Linked DNA regions of Homo sapiens: region 2 is linked to region 1. Evidence: promoter capture Hi-C in 16 types of primary human blood cells and fetal thymus (Javierre and others, 2016). All regions are on one chromosome and are shown on one strand. Each heading gives the region's core, a stretch centred on a gene start or on the middle of the fragment in contact. The rest is flanking DNA. Distances are from core to core; before and after follow the strand shown.

Region 1 (4,682 bases), core at 54-2,553:
TAAGCTTCCGTGTCAACGAGTGCATTAGTGGGTGCGCACATGCCTGAGCGCCCTCTGCATATGAGTGTGCACACACGCATGGGTGTGTTTACACGTCTGTTTGCGTAATTTACCGGGTTTGCATGTGCATCAAGACATGTATGTGTGTGCTAATGTGTGGACAAGAGCGCGAGGGTGTGCGCGCACGGGTGAGTGACTGAGCACGCCGCTTATTCAGGGGCCTGTGCGGTCTGGGTCGCCTCTGGGCCAGCGGGTTCTCACTCGCCCCCGTCAGGCCCGCGGCGCCCGAGACAAAGCGGCCGCGACTCGTGCTGCGCTTTCGTTTTCCGCCTGCGCTCTGCCCCGGCGGCTGCCCGCCCGCTCGCAAGCTGCTGGGCGAGTCCGAAAAATCCCGGGAGCGGCGCAGTTCTTCCCGGGGCGGGGAGAGTGGGTAGGCGGTCCCTCGCGGGAACTTAGCCGGCCGGCCGCGAGGACCGGAGTCGAGCCGGCTGTGCCTGCGATGGTCACGACCGGGAGGCCGCCGCACTTGCGATTTGCTACAGGGCTGTGCGCGTCGGGGAAGGCCCCGGCCCAGGGAGCGTTTCCCGCCGCGCCGCCCGGGCGGGGAAGGCGGGGTCCAGCGCGCACCGGGGCTGAACCGCGGGCGGAGGGCGCATTAACACTTGCTCGCCAGGTTGGTGGAGGCGGGGCGGATTCTGCTGGCGGCCGCGGGGCGGCGAGAGTGGGGGCTCTTTAAGCGCCCACCAACGCGGGGGCCCGAGGGGGGCAGGGACGGAGGGAGGGAACTCCGGGAGGGTCTTAGGCCGACCCGCGAGACGCAGCCGAGCGGAGATGGAGTGAAGGCTGCCTCGCCCGGAATCTCGGAGCCGAGCGCCGCGGGCGGCGGGGACTCAGGGCTGCTCCCGGCTGGGGCGCACGGCCGTAAGACCTGGAGGTGGTGCCTCCCCCCAAAAAATACCGGCGGGGGTAGCTTCCTCACGGCCTTCGCCCGGGCTGCCCTCGGCCTCAGCTCGGCTCCTTTCCTTGTGGGAGGGCGAGAAAGAAAGAGGGAGGAGAGAGGTGGGGGAGGCGGGAGTTGGAGAGAGAGGGGCTCTGAGCCAACCGCCGGCGGATCCAGCAGCTCCTCGGGGAGGGCGGGCGGGAGCGCGGGGGCGGGCGCGCCGCGGCTCGCTCGGGAGAAGTGGCCGCCGATGACGGCAGAGGTGCAGCCAGCCCCGCGCGCGCAGCCCCCTCCCCTTCGCCCTCCTCCCCCCCGTCGTCCTCTTCCTCCTCCTCCTCCTCCTCCTCCCGGCCCGTCCGCGGCGCAGAGCAGCGGCGGCAGCGGCGGCGGCGGCAGCAGCCACCCGATGTCTTCGGCGCCCGAGAAGCAGCAGCCACCGCACGGCGGCGGCGGCGGCGGCGGCGGGGGAGGCGGCGCGGCCATGGACCCCGCGTCGTCCGGCCCGTCCAAGGCCAAGAAGACCAACGCCGGCATCCGGCGCCCGGAGAAGCCGCCCTATTCCTACATCGCGCTCATCGTCATGGCCATCCAGAGTTCACCCACCAAGCGCCTGACGCTGAGCGAGATCTACCAGTTCCTGCAGAGCCGCTTCCCCTTCTTCCGGGGCTCCTACCAGGGCTGGAAGAACTCCGTGCGCCACAACCTCTCGCTCAACGAGTGCTTCATCAAGCTACCCAAGGGCCTTGGGCGGCCCGGCAAGGGCCACTACTGGACCATCGACCCGGCCAGCGAGTTCATGTTCGAGGAGGGCTCCTTTCGGCGGCGGCCGCGCGGCTTCCGAAGGAAATGCCAGGCGCTCAAGCCCATGTACAGCATGATGAACGGGCTCGGCTTCAACCACCTCCCGGACACCTACGGCTTCCAGGGCTCGGCCGGCGGCCTCTCGTGCCCGCCCAACAGCCTGGCGCTGGAGGGCGGCCTGGGCATGATGAACGGCCACTTGCCGGGCAACGTGGACGGCATGGCCCTGCCCAGCCACTCGGTGCCCCACCTGCCTTCCAACGGCGGCCACTCGTACATGGGCGGCTGCGGCGGCGCGGCGGCCGGCGAGTACCCGCACCACGACAGCTCGGTGCCCGCCTCCCCGCTGCTGCCCACCGGCGCCGGTGGGGTCATGGAGCCGCACGCCGTCTACTCGGGCTCGGCGGCGGCCTGGCCGCCCTCGGCGTCCGCGGCGCTCAACAGCGGCGCCTCTTATATCAAGCAGCAGCCCCTGTCCCCCTGTAACCCCGCGGCCAACCCCCTGTCCGGCAGCCTCTCCACGCACTCCCTGGAGCAGCCGTATCTGCACCAGAACAGCCACAACGCCCCAGCCGAGCTGCAAGGTGAGTGGGGAGGCCGAGGGCGCCCTGGTCCCCGGGAAGTCGAGTCTGAGTGGCAGCGGGACCCAGCTGGGGCGAGCCCCTCCACTTCTGTGGTCGGAACCCCAAGGCTGAGGGGAGGCACCAGCTCCCCAAGGTGTCTCTTGGCCCCACCTCTCCCCCTTCGAAGAGTGACTACCGCTCTTGACCCTAGTTTGGGCCAATCTGTTTCTCTTTCTGTTCGAACTCCAGCTGCCAGCTGCTCCAGGCCTGACCAGGTAGGCTGGTCCTGAGCCAGATGTCCCAGACCCCAGTGCCCTAAGTCCTTTTGTGTCCCTTAAGTCCCCTCACAGCTTGGAAAGATCCTGGGATGGACCCAAGGCTCCCAGCGCTGGCCAGATGGCTGTCCCTCCCTGGTGGTGGCCCTCAGGCTGCCTGGAGGGCTGCCTCTGCCTGGGGCTGGGCGGAACGGAAGGTGTTAGGCCCAAAGCCGCTGGGCCAGCGCTCAGAGGCTCAGCCCCGGCCTTTCAGGGGACCAGACCTGGCAGACCCACAGCTGAGTCCAGGGGCATTTTGTGGTGACTGAGGCAGGAGGGTGCCGTGGCCAGGCCCCGGAGGGTCAGAGCTGCAGACCGGGCCATGGGGGCTCCTTGTTTTTTAGGATCCAAGTTTTCAGGTCCCCACACCCCCAACACCCCTGATACCCCAATACCCCGAACATGCAGAAGCATCTGCCAAGGGAGATGCAGCAGCCTCGCCTCCTGATTCTGCCCCAGGCCCCCCGCAGCCTGCAGGCCCAGCTCTGGAAAAAGCTGGAGTGAGCTTGCCAGGGCCAGTCCAGGGTCAGCTGTCAGCAGCCCCAGGAGGCAGGAGCCAGGCCTGGAGGCCTTAGGCAGCCTCTCTGCGGGGGACTCCCCGGCTCCGGGGCCTGTTCTCTGGAGAAGCTTCTTCTCACCCCTGCTGCTGGCCCGGCGCTGGCCCTGCACTGGCCTCTCCTTCAACCCCGCCGGCAGTCGTAGCCTCTGAGGTTGGGGGTGGTGGTGGCTGCCCTGGCGGTGACGGCCATGGGCGTTAGGGGCCCTCCACTTGGTCTCCCTCACCACTTCCCCTATGGCTCTGGAAGCCCTGGGCCCCTGCACGGTGTCCGAGGCTGGACAGGCACGCAGCAGGCAGGCAGGCAGGCAGGCAGGCAGGCCGTGGCAAGTGTTCTGGAGTCTTTTCCTTGGGTGCGCAGCTGGAAGGCCGGGACTCGGGGAGGAGAGCGGGGAGGCGGCCGTGCTCTGGAGCCAGGCTGACAGGCCCTGTGCGCCCCACGGGAGCACTGCTCCTCTGCCTGAACTCTGAGCCACCGTGGCTAACTCTTCTGCTCCCCCAACCCCTCCTGTCGCCTCGCCTTGCAGGCATCCCGCGGTATCACTCGCAGTCGCCCAGCATGTGTGACCGAAAGGAGTTTGTCTTCTCTTTCAACGCCATGGCGTCCTCTTCCATGCACTCGGCCGGCGGGGGCTCCTACTACCACCAGCAGGTCACCTACCAAGACATCAAGCCTTGCGTGATGTGAGGCTGCCGCCGCAGGCCCTCCTGGTGCAGGCAGGCGGGTCACAGGGACCCTGGACCGGCACAAGAAACTGCTTTCTTCTCGAGGTATAACCGTCGGCAGAAGAAAAGGGTTCCACCTCTCCCCAACCGGAGTTTTTGGCAAGGAGTCCCCAATGCAAAGACACAGCGCTGCGGTTGGCACCTCCTTCCTCACTCCTTCAAAATTGTTAAGAAATGTTAGTGGTGGGTCTGATCTGACTGCAGCCATCGGTAAATAAAAGTTTTTGATCCTGTTGAACCCGCCTGAGACGGTGCTGTGCAGGGGAAAGCCCCCGCACCCACACAGGAATTCTGCTGAGGTCCCCCCTCCTTCCGGCCAATGGCAGAAGTGGGGGAAAATTTTTAGAAGAAAAGCAAACATGTGAGACCAATCATTATCAAATACTTTTATTTTTTGGTTGAGTATTTATCTTTTTATTTTTTATTTTTTTTTTGAAAGAATGTCTTGGAATGCGCAAGTCTCCCTTTAGAGCCGTCTTTTGCAGGGAGCGGGAAGTGACAAGAGCTCAGATCTCCCTCCCGATCTCCCTCCCCACCTCCGAAGTCTCCTCCGTGGACCACAGGTGGATCTTTGTGCGAACAACTTGCATTTCGGAAGCCACTGTCCGTCTTTAAACAGAAAGTCAAAGGAGCCACGAAGCAAGCGGCCGTCCGGGCGTCCGCCTCCGTCCCCTTCCATGTTCCTCCTCTTCCTTCGCTTCAGCCTCTTCTGTTATGTTTTGTCTTGAATTTTATTTAGACTTTTTCAGTGGGTATTTTTCTGTCTCCCAACCTCTACTGTA
Region 2 (5,222 bases), core at 1,477-3,976, 120 kb before region 1:
TGGCCTCTCCTCTATGTGTGTCTGTGTCTTCTCTTCTGCTTCTTATGAGGACACCTGTCATCGGCTTTACAACCCACCGTAAGTTCAAGACGATCTCATCTCAAGATCCTTATCTTAATTATGTCTATGAAGATTCTATTTCCAAATAAGTTCATATTCGTGCGGTCTGGAAGATTAGAATGTGGACACATCTTTTTCAGGGACACAATTCACCCCACTGCAGTGACCACAGCCGGATCAGACTCGTTCACCCACTTCAGTGACCACAGATGGATCAGACTCGTTCGCTCCCTGCAGTGACCACGGCCGGATCAGACTTGTTCCCTACAAAGGGGATTTCTCATGAGAGCCAGTCACACGAGGGCAGAGACTTTGGTTATCCTCGCCCTGGTAGCTTCAGCATCTGCGCTGCATGTGGTAGGAGGCTTGATCACTTCTGAACAAACACACCAATGAGTAAATGAACGAGCGGCCTCACAGAGCAGCGATGGGGACTTTCTGATGAAGACCAGGTTTTCAGACGGCGGGAGGCCTTGGCTTTGAGGTGTCAGTGGGTGCAATGGTTAATATGGCACTGATTTTAGCGAGTGCCGACTGCGCAATGCCATATCTTTTAAAGGGCACTATAGAATCCCAGAGTTATTGAGTAGGAAGGAAGCCTGGACACTCCTCAGTCCAACTTCCTCACCTGCAAGGTGACAAAACTGAAGCCAGAGAGGAGGAAGGATTCACCCAGGTCCCCCAGAGTCAGCAGCTAAGGAGAGTATAGAAACCAGGCTTCTGACTTCCCAGCCAGTGCTCCACTGAGACCCAGCTCCCCTCCCTCTATCATCATCTCCATCATCCTAATCTCAGCCACGACTCCCATGACCTTGGACTCTTCCTGCTTGGCTCTATGTTCAGCATCTCACATACATCAACTCATTTAATTCTCTCAACAACCCAGTGCTTTACATAGAATCCTTATCTCCATTCTACAGGTGGCACAACTGAGGCTCTCAGATAATTTCCCAAAGGTCTGACAGCTAGAAAATCATGTAATCTGATGCTTAAGCCAGTGCTCCAAGCCAGAGGTGAGCAAACCATAGTCTGTAGGACAAATCTGGCCCATCACCTGTGACCACAGCCAGATTCTGCCACAAAAACAGGAGAATTCTCCGAGAACACATCCAGTTTAATTACAGCACAGTCACACTCGTTATTCAAAGCATCATCTCCGGCTTTCTTCCCTGCTGCAATGGCAAAGCTGAGTAATTGAGAGAGACAGTAGGAACTGAACAGCCTGAAATACTTGTCATCTGGCCCTTCATGTAAATGTCTCCTGAACTCTGCTCTATGCTGCCGATACTATATTATCTATTCTATTCAGTGTATATGTTATCATTTATATCAAACGTTTAAGGGCTTTGTATCTATAATTTGAGAAATGTTTACATTTGATTCTCAAATGAAACCCACCAACAATTAATTTACAAGGAAACAGGTACTTCTTGAACATGATGGCCTTCCCCACTGTGTTTCTATTTTCACAGGGATGTTTTCAGACTCGATGATCCCAAAAGTGATCCCATTAGAAGAAGAAGGAAAAAAAAATAAAAAAGAAAGAAACAACCTCCGCCCCTGCAACCTCTTAAACGGCCCACAACATCTGAATCGGAAGGTCCGTTCATGCTGATTTTCTACGTGTCAGGAATTTCATGCCAAAAAGCGACTCTTCTACATTAATAACGCATCTCCCCATCCAAGACAGGAAATAACATTACAAAAGCCGGAAAGGACATCAAACGCGCTGGCTTGGCAGCCACATGTATATGTGAAATTACTGTCAGAGTTCAAAGGCAGGGCTGAGACATGGAGGGTGCGTGCGGCAGTGTTACCCCATGATGCTTTTACCTCGTGGGAATAAGCACAGTGGCAGGTTACTGTGACCTGGCCACTGGCTTCCTGATACCCACATTGATTCTGGCACGTGGGACTGCAGGGCTGGATTTGGGTGGGCTTTGCAGCTCCCCATACATCCTACCCCAGCTCAAGAGCCTCACACGTAAAGCAACCTTTCCAGGTTTGGGCAGCCCGGACCAGTGCCTGCACCCAGGGCTGGCCAATGCTGCAGAGCTGGCTCTTACTGAGCACTGCACTAATTATTAAAGCATTGCCTCAGGACTCTTGCACAACCTTGAGAAGTAGGAGCTATCATGCCCCCTAATTCATGGATGGGGAATTGAAGATGAATTGAGGTTACTTGATGTGCCCATTGCATGGAGGAAGTGGAGGAACCAAGGTTCAAGCCCAAAGATTCCATCACTCACAACTACCAGGCTTCACTGCTTCAATGTGGAAGCTTCCTTGGGAGATGCAGCCAACCACGCCCAGGCAAGGTTGGACCTGAAGGTGTGAAGAGCTCACCTTTCTGGTTAAGGCAAGTCACTGAGCCCCATTTGGAGATGGAGTTTGCATCAATCTTCATGGCAAGAGGGATCATGACATGAATGAGAGGGCAGCAATTTGACCAAAGGCTCTTCTAGCTAGACAGGTAACTTGGTTTATCCTCCTGACTCATTAAACTGCCTGGTGAACTCCTATGCATTCTTCAAAACCCAGTTTAAACATTCCTTTCACCATGAAGATTTCCTTGCCCCATAAAAAGTCAATCAACTCTTTCTTTGGGCCCCTGAAGTGTATGTGTTGTGAGTGCTTCTGTCTTGACACAGACTGCTTTGCCTTGAATGTGTGCAGCTCGCTGTCTGTATAGTACATTCATCAAGGACAGGAATTGTGTTCAATGTGCCTGTGGACACCAGCTTGGATTAACAGGAACAACGCTAGTAACACCCAGCGCTAGTTAATCACGTACTCTGTGCTGCGCACTCCTCTAACGGGGTCATGGGCTCTAATCCTTAAAACACCGTAGGAGGCTGCTGTGATTATTATTCCCAATGGCGAGGCGTGTAGGCTCTGAAGCCAGGCCACCTGGGTTTGAACCCTGGCTCTGCCTGTGACCTTGAGTGAGTTACTCAGCCTCTCTGTGTCTCGGGATTCTCAGTGACATAGGGATCATCACAGCAGTCACCCAGTGAGGGCTGGAGCCAACTCCGGCAAGAGCTAACTATTAAAGCTTAAAGAATTTTGCCATCGTTAAACATTACATTATGCACACTTAGAGTGGAGTAAACTATATTTAAAACAAACGTAATAAACACTCAAAAGTCATCACTTCCTAATTATTTCCCCACATTTTACTTTCCTCCCTGCCCTTAAGGATACTCACGTTTCCACTTTGGTGGAAATACGGAATAACGATGAGCTTGCACACTGCTTCCCAACTTTATGTTCAATGGCCTCACACTGGTTGAAATGAGACGTAAGGAGGGGATTTACACCATGGAGACTGGCAAACGCTATAACTCAGGGTTTTTTTAACCTTGGAAAACCACTTGTTAAGCATTCCCCAGCACAGCGATGTAACCACCTTATAGCAAGCACACAGTAAGCTGTCAATATGCATTAGCTACTATTGCTATTACTACGAAGAAGACAGAGCTTAAATCACTCACCCAGGTTATGAAAGATCCAGGTATGACCCCAGACATGACAGCTCCCTATCCCTTAACCAGCTTGAACTCAAGGCAGACCACAGAGGAGTGGCCAAGAAATGTATTTGGTTGAATAAACAAACATTGAATTAGTAGATCTCAAATCTGCTGGCCGCAGAAGTGCCTGGGGAGCTTTGTATGGACACAGATTCCCACAGTATCCCTTGTGGTAGGCTCCAGAGTGTGCATTAGAGCGAGTGCGTCGGGTTCTGATTCTGTCCCTCCCCATAGCCCAGCCCCATCCCTGTCTTGCTTGTTGCCCGCTTGTGACCCATCTTCCACATCTGCCTTCCTGCATCCCTACGGGGGTGAGTGGGAACTGTGAGGTGGAGAACCGCATAGGGCAGGGGCCCCTCTGTGCACAGGCCTTAACCAAGAGAGGGCTTGAAGACTGAACACCGTTGCAGGCAAATTAGAAGAAAACCTGCCTCCTCCAGCAGACACTGACCGTGGTGTATAGGCAGCCAAGAGAGGCCGCAGCTTACCTGGGCTCAGAGGCCTGCATATATCTGAGTCCACGGTAACAAAAAACAGGCTGTGAGCGTGCACTGCACTTGCAAATTCACAAAATGCTGCCACATTCCTTCTCCTTTCATCTCACGATAACCCCATGAGATCAGCAATGGATGCATAAAAATAATCCCCCGTTTACAGATGAGGAAACATGTGACTCATATAGCTCAGAGCTGCTCATGCCTGGAGCCTCAGGCTTCAAAGCTGTGTTTTTCCTTCAAAAGTGGGTGTGAGGGAGAGAAGTGGAGAAGATGGGGGCCGGAGTCCCGGAAAGTCAACGTTTATGCATTATGTTGGCTTTGCTACCCACTAGCTGTGTGACCCTGGAAAAGCTTCTTAATTTCTCTGTGCCTTAAGTTTGCACCTTTGAAAAACCTAAGAAAATGATTGGCAGCCTCCTCTTATGGTTGTGGTGAATTAATAGATGTAAAAATGCCTCTTAGAATGTTGCACTGGGTGGGGTTCAATAATGGAATAGACAGGAACCACAGCAACAGCTATAATGATATTGTTGCCTTTATATATCTTGTGGCATTTCCGGGCTATTATTTTTAAAAGGCAGGCTATTGAGCTATCTGGGATAGATCAAGTGACGGATACGTAGATGGGAAGTCAAGGAGCTCTAGACTGGAAGTTGGGGACCATGGATTGAAGACCTCATCCAGTCAACAGGTATTTCCTGGACACATACGATGTGTCCAGTCCTCTGAAGGTCCCCTCTGACAAAGTGGCTGCATGGAGCAATAGCTACGACTGTGACCCCAGGGCCACACAGACAGGGTCTATGTCTGCAGCTGATGGGCTCACGGCCTTGCTCTAGTCCCTTATCTCCCTGCATCTGTCGTCCCGTCTGTAAAATAGAATGAATCAGAAAATAAACAGCATCTCTCTGACTCAGTGGCTGCATGGAGCAATAGGTAAGAGTGTGACCCCAGGGCCACACAGACAGGGTCTACATCTGCAACTGATGGGCTCACAGCCTTGCTCTAGCCCCTTGTCTATCTGTATCTGTCATCCAATCTGTAAAACAGAATGAATCAGAAAAGAAACCCCATAAAGTATTTGTGAGTATGGAGTTTTTAAATGAGATTTTGTCTGTAAGATGTTTTAGCCTGG

Evidence for each region. The method cuts DNA at HindIII sites, captures the fragments that hold promoters and counts their contacts. A CHiCAGO score of 5 or more calls a contact.
Region 2: a contact is called between a fragment that was not itself captured here and the fragment with the promoter of FOXF1 in region 1, in 1 of 17 cell types (endothelial precursors). The highest score is 5.6, in endothelial precursors.

What each region holds. Positions count from the first base shown.
Region 1 is chr16:86,509,224-86,513,905 of GRCh38, forward strand. FOXF1 (forkhead box F1) reads left to right here and starts at 1,304. Exons shown (of 2, transcript NM_001451.3): 1 at 1,304-2,325; 2 at 3,702-4,682. The coding sequence starts at 1,347. The coding sequence ends at 3,862. RefSeq lists an enhancer at 2,797-3,563. The HindIII fragment of the contact is 3,241 bases long and covers 3-3,243 here.
Region 2 is chr16:86,387,957-86,393,178 of GRCh38, forward strand. No RefSeq gene overlaps it. Among named protein-coding and RNA genes, the nearest start is that of LINC00917, 45 kb to the left of the region's middle. The HindIII fragment of the contact is 774 bases long and covers 2,340-3,113 here.